2 separate regions of the Homo sapiens genome follow, and region 2 is linked to region 1. Evidence: promoter capture Hi-C in human tissues and cell types (Jung and others, 2019). All regions are on one chromosome and are shown on one strand. Each heading gives the region's core, a stretch centred on a gene start or on the middle of the fragment in contact. The rest is flanking DNA. Distances are from core to core; before and after follow the strand shown. Region 1 holds the start of ZNF804B (zinc finger protein 804B). Region 2 overlaps STEAP2-AS1 (STEAP2 antisense RNA 1).

Region 1 (3,435 bases), core at 593-3,092:
AGTTGAACAAACACTACGTTGTTAAACATGCCATTGTTGTGGTGTTAAATACATCAATAGAAAGGAGAAGATGGATCTGTTGCATCTGCTGCCACTGCTCTATAAATTTATTTTTATTTCAAAAGTTCTTACCAACAATTTATTTAAAATAAACAATTCCTGAGATTTACATTGCACTATCCCAGTTTCAGTAATTTTTATTCTGAAGGTTTGCAAGGAATTGGCATTTTTCCCTTATATACTCAGAAGCTTTGCAAACACTTTAAAAGACTATATAAAACCTTTAAAATGAGAAGTACATCTATGTATTTTTTAAATAAAATATTAAGGATATTAAGCCATTGTAATGATGTAAACAAAAAGTCAAGCTTTTATTGGGTAGTTACAAAAGTTATAATTAGATTCTTTTTTGTTCCTTTTTTGCTTAAGAATTTTATGAGTTGCCTGAATAGGAAAAATTAAATTAACAGTTTTTTTTTCCTTTTAACCTGTTTCTGCTTTTGTGTCAATGTCAACCGGGATGCGAATGGGGCATTGTGGGAGACAGGAGAGGACAATACTGGGGAGAATTAGCGCATTGGCGGTAGCCTTTCAATTCCAGCGCTGAAGCAACAGACTGAGAGGAGGTGAACCTTTACCTTCTCCCAGGCACAGACAAGGCGAGGTGAGGCAGAGATGGATTGCAGAACCGCATTAAGCAACCGCGGGGTGGAGGAGAGTGCAGGGTGTCTCCAAACCCTGGGAGGGCTATCTTCTCCTTTCAGAGCACATTTCTGCCCAGGTCTTTTTATTCTCAGTGCAGCTCGCTCCCTGGTGGCTTAAATTACGGTAAACGAAATAAGGTCCGTTAAAAACCACTTCTGAGAGGGGTGATTATTGGGGGTTTTGAAAGCACAGAGGTCTTATAGAGACCAAAAATATGTGCCTCGCTAAGATACAGAAAGGCTTGTAAGTGAATCTTCATAACTCTGGGTACGTGCATGTATATGCACATATACGTATGCATGTCTCGTTTCTATACCTTATATAAGTTTTCTGCCCAAAACTTTCCTCGTCCGTGCGTTCCCTACCACGGCGCATCTAATCTGTCTGCCCTATTTGTGGCTGCACAGCTCATTCTTGCAACCGGCTGGGGAGCTGTTGCTTCTGCCAACGCCGCCGTCAGCCAGAGCGCTGAAGAAAAGCTGAAGGCCAGCAGGCAACGAAAGAGTAAAGAAAACGCCCTCCTCCTGCCCATCTCCTCCACCACAGCCTCCCCAGTCCTCCCAGGTGACTCCCAAACAGTAGAAAGTTGGCTCAGAGATAGGGCAGAAGAACCGGGGGGCTGGGCGGCTGAGGCCGGGAGGTGGGAGAGGCGGGTCCTGCAGCCCCGAGAGCCCCCCGCGGCTGCAGCGGCAGCTGTCACCTCCTGGCCTCGCCCCACAGCACACCTGAGCCTCCTGGGCAGCCCCGAGCCCACAGCTCCCAGCAGAGGCGCTAACTGCCCTCCTCAAGCACAGGTCGCCGCGTCCCCAACTCCCTGTCCTCACCCCGGCCCGCCCGTCTCCTCCTCCGCCCTCTCCCGACTGCAGCGGGGGCAGCGCTTTGGCGCTCCCAAGGACTCCCCGCCACTCTCCCCACAAAGCAGCGGCGGTGGCGGCGGCTGCTGCTGGATCTTCACACTGCAGCCAGCAGCCCAGGACGCCCCCGGCCGGACGATGGGTACCCGCGCCTGAGCATCCCCCGGGCAGGCGCCAGGCGCGAAGGCAGGGGGCGGGAGGAAAGGGGCGGGGGAATTCCTGATTCCCTGGTGGACCCTGGAAGTTGTCCTTAAATAAATATATCGCTGGCCCGCGGTTGAGCAGCCACCTCGTCAGAGCAGCATGTGGACTGGCTCGCCGGGTCCCCTCCGTGCTCTGTGCTGTCGCCGCCGCCGCCTCTGTCAGAGCAGCAGCTGTCGGCAGCAGGAGCCCCGCACGGGGCGCGGAGCAGGGACGCGCTGCCACCGCCTCCCCCTGCGTCCTGCTGGCCGCGTCTTCTCGGGAGGTGGTAGTCGCTGTTGCCGCTGAGAAACCCGCCCGCTTTCCACGGCTGGTCGCCTGGTGAGGAGTTGAGACTCTGCGCCTCCGCCCGGACCCACATGGCTTGTTACCTGGTCATCAGTTCGAGACATCTCAGCAATGGGCACTACCGGGGCATTAAAGGAGTCTTCAGGGGACCCCTGTGCAAGAACGGATCTCCCTCTCCGGTAATGTGCGCGCGCACACACATACATACACAAACGTTCCAACTCAACACAAACAAAAAGATATTGAGAGATAGTATCCTGATACAATGAGTAGGTGGTGGACATCTAAAACGTATACCTTATCCATAGGTATGGAGATACATCGTGTCCGTTTATACAATTTATTGACAGACTGTGACACAGAGAGGGGTGTGTATTTACATGTGTATTTTCAATTCAGTCAGTAGGATCTATAGTGCTACGGATGTAAATACTTACTGAATGCAGTCAACTGCAGGGCTCAGAAGGTAGCTCCTCTGTGCTATGTCAACTTACGAATCTGCTGATTTGAGCAGTGTAGAAAGTTTGAGTGGCACGTTATAATGTGCTTTTGTAAAGTCATCAGTTGAGATTAGTTTAATAATGCTACTGTTACTTTGTGAGAAAAACTCAAAGATTTTCCCTCAAATCATTGGCAAAAGGAAAGTTATAGGTAGTGAAAACTTGATTATATCTAATGCTCAACTATGCACATTCTTTAAGGGGAAGTAAGAGAATTCTTTATGGAAATCTGAGTTGGATAATTTATTGTATAATATACAAATATATTAACATGCAATTAACGTGATTGCTTTTTAACTTAGTAAACTATTCAATTTAGTTACTATTCAGTTTATTCACATTCTTTTTATAAAATAATTTCATCCAGATTATATGAGTTAAATACATTATTAATTCATTTCTTGGTACATGCTATTATGTTTTAAGGCTCCAAATATGTTTCAAGAAAATGTGTGTGAATGTGTATGTGTGTGTAATTTATATATATATATAATAAATATATATATAATAAATATATATATAATAAATATATATATATATTAGTTTTGGACTACTAGTGACTAAGTATCCAAACTTAAAGACCAACTTTTGAGGTTTCATATAAAAAACAGTATTTAAGTCTGTATGATATCAAGAGGGAAAACTGAAATTGCCCAACTTTAATTTTTTTATGTTTGATATTTTCCATCATGGTTTAATGCTTCTTTAGCATGAATTATTCAAAACTGCAACATATTATAAAAGCCTTTGATTATTAATAAATGCTATATGTAATTTACATGAGAAATCTAAGATCAGAAAGTACAGGTGCCCAGAGATATCACTAGGATTCCTCATGACAAACTATTCCTTCACATGCTTTTATGTACTATAAAAAGTGGGTTGTT
Region 2 (3,611 bases), core at 131-2,630, 1.2 Mb after region 1:
CATGGAATGTTCTTCTATTTGTTTGTATCCTCTTTTATTTCCTTGAGCAGTGGTTTGTAGTTCTCCTTGAAGAGGTCCTTCACATCCCTTGTAAGTTGGATTCCTAGGTATTTTATTCTCTTTGAAGCAATTGTGAATGGGAGTTCACTCATGATTTGGTTCTGTTTGTCTGTTATTGGTGTATAAGAATGCTTGTGATTTTTACACATTGATTTTGTATCCTGAGACTTTGCTGAATTTGCCTATCAGCTTTAGGAGATTTTGGGCTGAGATGATGGGGTTTTAAGAAGAGACTGAATTAGTGAGACTGAAGATAAGGAAGCCAGTGAGCAAGTTCTTGGTGTCACCCAGTAATTAAGTTCTGGGATATTATTGGAAAATGATCCTTCCTTATTTAAATATTCACCAATACATGAAGCAATCTTATGAAAAGAGTTATCATGTAGACAGTACACAACTGTGAAAGAAAAATATCTTGGGCCCTGAAAATCACTAAGCTAAATAGAAAACTCAAGCTGGAAACTGCTCAGGGAAAACCTGCCTCCCATTCTATTCAAAGTCATCCCTCTGCTCACTGAGATAGATGCACATTCTGTTTGCCTCCTTTGGAAAGTCTTATCAGAAACTCAGAAGAATGTAACCATTTGTCTCTTACCCACCTGTGACCTGGAAGGTCTCTCCTTGCTTAGAGTTGTCCCTGCCTTTCTGGATGGAACCAGTTTACTTCTTACATATGTTGATTGATATCTAATGTCTCCCTAAAATGTATAAAACCAAGCTATGCCCTGACCACCTTGGGCACAAGTTGTCAGGACTTCTTGAGACTGTGTCATGGGTGCACGTCCTCAACCTCAGCGAAATAAACTTTCTAAATTAACTGAGACCTGTCTCAAATTTTCAGAGTTCACACAACATATATGAAGACACAAAAGTTAATTAGTATTGCTTCAATGTCTCCAGCCCTTTACTTTCTTGCCTACCAAAGAAAATTCTAGCTTAGCCCATTCTGTCCTTCCCATCATGCTCTATTTGGGGGATTCAGAAGGGTTCTTTGGAAGCTTTTCATTTGAATAAATCAACAGAAGAGTCAGAAGTCTGCAGCTAGGGAAGAGGTTTTCAGGGGATTCTGGAAAATGTAGAAAGCATAAAGTATGGGAATATCAAAGCAAACATTTTACTGGACAATGTTAAACAGGCAACAAAAACTTTATTCAAGACTATTGCAATACAGCCATTTTGGAGAATAGTACAGTGGTTCCTCAAAAAACTAAAAATAGAATTACTATATCATCTAGCAATACCACTGCTGGGTATACACAAAAGGAAATGAACTCTGTTGAAGGGAAGTCTGCACTCCCATGTTCACTGCAGCATTATTCACAATATCCAAGTTGTGGAAACAACCTAATAGTTCACTAATGGATAATCAATTTTTAAAATATGTCATATATACACAACAAAATACTGTTTAGCCTTAAAAGAAAAAAAAAACAGGAAATTCTATCATTTGTGATATGGAAGAAACTTGAGGACATTTAGTTGAAATAAGCCAGGCACAGAAAGACTAATGCCATATGATCTCACTTATATGTGGGATCTAAACAGGTTGGACTCACAGAGGTAAAGTGTAGAATGGTGGCTCCTAGAGGCTGGGAGTTGAGGGGAGGAAGATCGGGAAAGGGGAGATGTTGTTGAATGGGTACAAAGTTACAGTTAGAAGGAATAAGTTCTGGATGTTCTATTTCACAGCAAGGTGACTACAGTTAATATATTGTACATTTTAAAATAGCTTAAAGTGAAGATTTTAGATATTCTCATCACAAATAAACAATAAATATTTGAGGTGATGGATATGCTAATTACTCTGATTTGATCATTCCACAATGTAACATGTGAACAACACTTTTTTTGTTTTGTTTTTGTTTTTGTTATGGAGTTTCACTCTTGTTGCCCAGGCTGGAGTGCAATGGCGCAATCTTGGCTCACTGCAACCTCCGCCTCCTGGGTTCAAACAATTCTGCCTCAGCCTCCCAAGTAGCTGGGATTACAGGGGTGTGCCACCATGCCCAGCTAATTTTTCTATTTTTAGTAGAGATGCAGTTTCACCATGTTGGCCAGGTTGGTCGTGAACTCCTGGCCTCAGGTAATCCACCCATTTCAGCCTCCCACAGTGCTGGGATTACAGGCATGAGCCACCACATCCAGCCTGTAAACAACACTTTGTAGCCCATAAATATATACAATTATTGTTTGTCAATTAAAAATAAAGCTTTACAAAAAGAATATTGCAATAGGAGAAGGAGGCCTGAACTCAGTGTAAATGCAATTCTTCTGAAACAAACACCTGGGAAGTTTTTAAGAGCTGAGACAGAAGGGTCTTAGACCATCTGTGTTTGCTAGTTGGTTTTACCCAAAGAGAGAGTCAACATTCTCATACCTTCATGACAGGAGATAGTTTTACAACTGGAAGCAAGGTGCCCACCAAAGTTAGGTTCCTACTCTCCCACAGAAACTGGGATACAGAAGGTCTAACTTCCTTGACAATTACATATCAAAGAGATGGCTGTAGATCTTTGAGAAAGACAATCCTGGGTGGTAAAACTGGCAGAAGGCTTTTAAAAAAGTTTTGCATCACAAAGGAGCAGTGAAACATTTATAATTACAAGTTTTCTAAAGTGAATGTTTTACCTTAGAAAGGGAGATCAGGGGTCTAGAGGTCGGTCGGAAGCAGCCTATTTAAACGTTTGGGGGAGCTGAAGGAAACACTAAGGCTATCTTGGTCAAATGCAATTGCTTTGAATAAAAAAAGTGAAAAAAAATAATTTAAGAGTTATTACTGGCATAAACAAAAGTAGTGCTATTCATAATGTTTGAGAAATACAAGTGGAAAACTTGAGTTTTTATTGTAAAGGAAAATTTTTAAATCCCAGGGTATCCAAACTCTTTATGTAAAAGGGAAGTTTAAGCTTGAAGGCTGAGTCTCCCTCTTCCAGATGACTAGCTATGACAACATTATGCATCAGCCCAAGTAAAAGGCCTCAGGCATCTATGAAGGGCCACCCCCACAGATCATTTCTAAGTAAATTCTCCCATAAACAAGGACATCCCAATTGTAATTTTAGGTCTACAATCTAAGTCTAGCTCCTAAAACTATAGTCTGTTCAATTCCACACTGAAAACGTCCACTACAAGCTTATCTTCCCAGGTGCAGAAAAACACAAGATGAGATTGTCTTTGTTCCTCTACCTAACTGATTTTTCCTTTACTGCCTTTTTTCTCTTTATTTACCTTATCTTACATAAAATGGTAGTCTCACAAAAATGTAACCATTTGCCTTACTGCCTACCTGTTCCTCTTCCTACCTACCTGTTCCTCTTCCTGCAGGTCTCCTTCCACCCACTTTAATGAAATAGATAAATACTAAACCTCCTGAAAAGCTCCTTGGAATGACAGCCACAGATATGGCTTATGATTTTCCCAGATGTGCCCTAAAACTGGCTTAGTAAACCTCGAATGATTGAGATTTTTGTCTCTGTTATTCATTTCAGTTACCATTATGAAATTATTTTTTGGTTATAGTTTTTCTATTACAATACTACATGGGGACTAGA

Evidence for each region. The method cuts DNA at HindIII sites, captures the fragments that hold promoters and counts their contacts. A contact is called where the count stands out against the background at its distance.
Region 2: a contact is called between a fragment that was not itself captured here and the fragment with the promoter of ZNF804B in region 1, in 1 of the 25 tissues and cell types used here (stomach).

What each region holds. Positions count from the first base shown.
Region 1 is chr7:88,757,858-88,761,292 of GRCh38, forward strand. It overlaps ZNF804B (zinc finger protein 804B), which reads left to right and starts at 1,843. Exons shown (of 4, transcript NM_181646.5): 1 at 1,843-2,227. The coding sequence starts at 2,120. RefSeq lists an enhancer at 1,989-2,533. The HindIII fragment of the contact is 17,200 bases long and covers 1-3,435 here.
Region 2 is chr7:89,985,257-89,988,867 of GRCh38, forward strand. The region is part of intron 2 of STEAP2-AS1 (STEAP2 antisense RNA 1); the gene reads right to left. Among named protein-coding and RNA genes, the nearest start is that of STEAP1, 170 kb to the right of the region's middle. The HindIII fragment of the contact is 3,398 bases long and covers 1-3,079 here.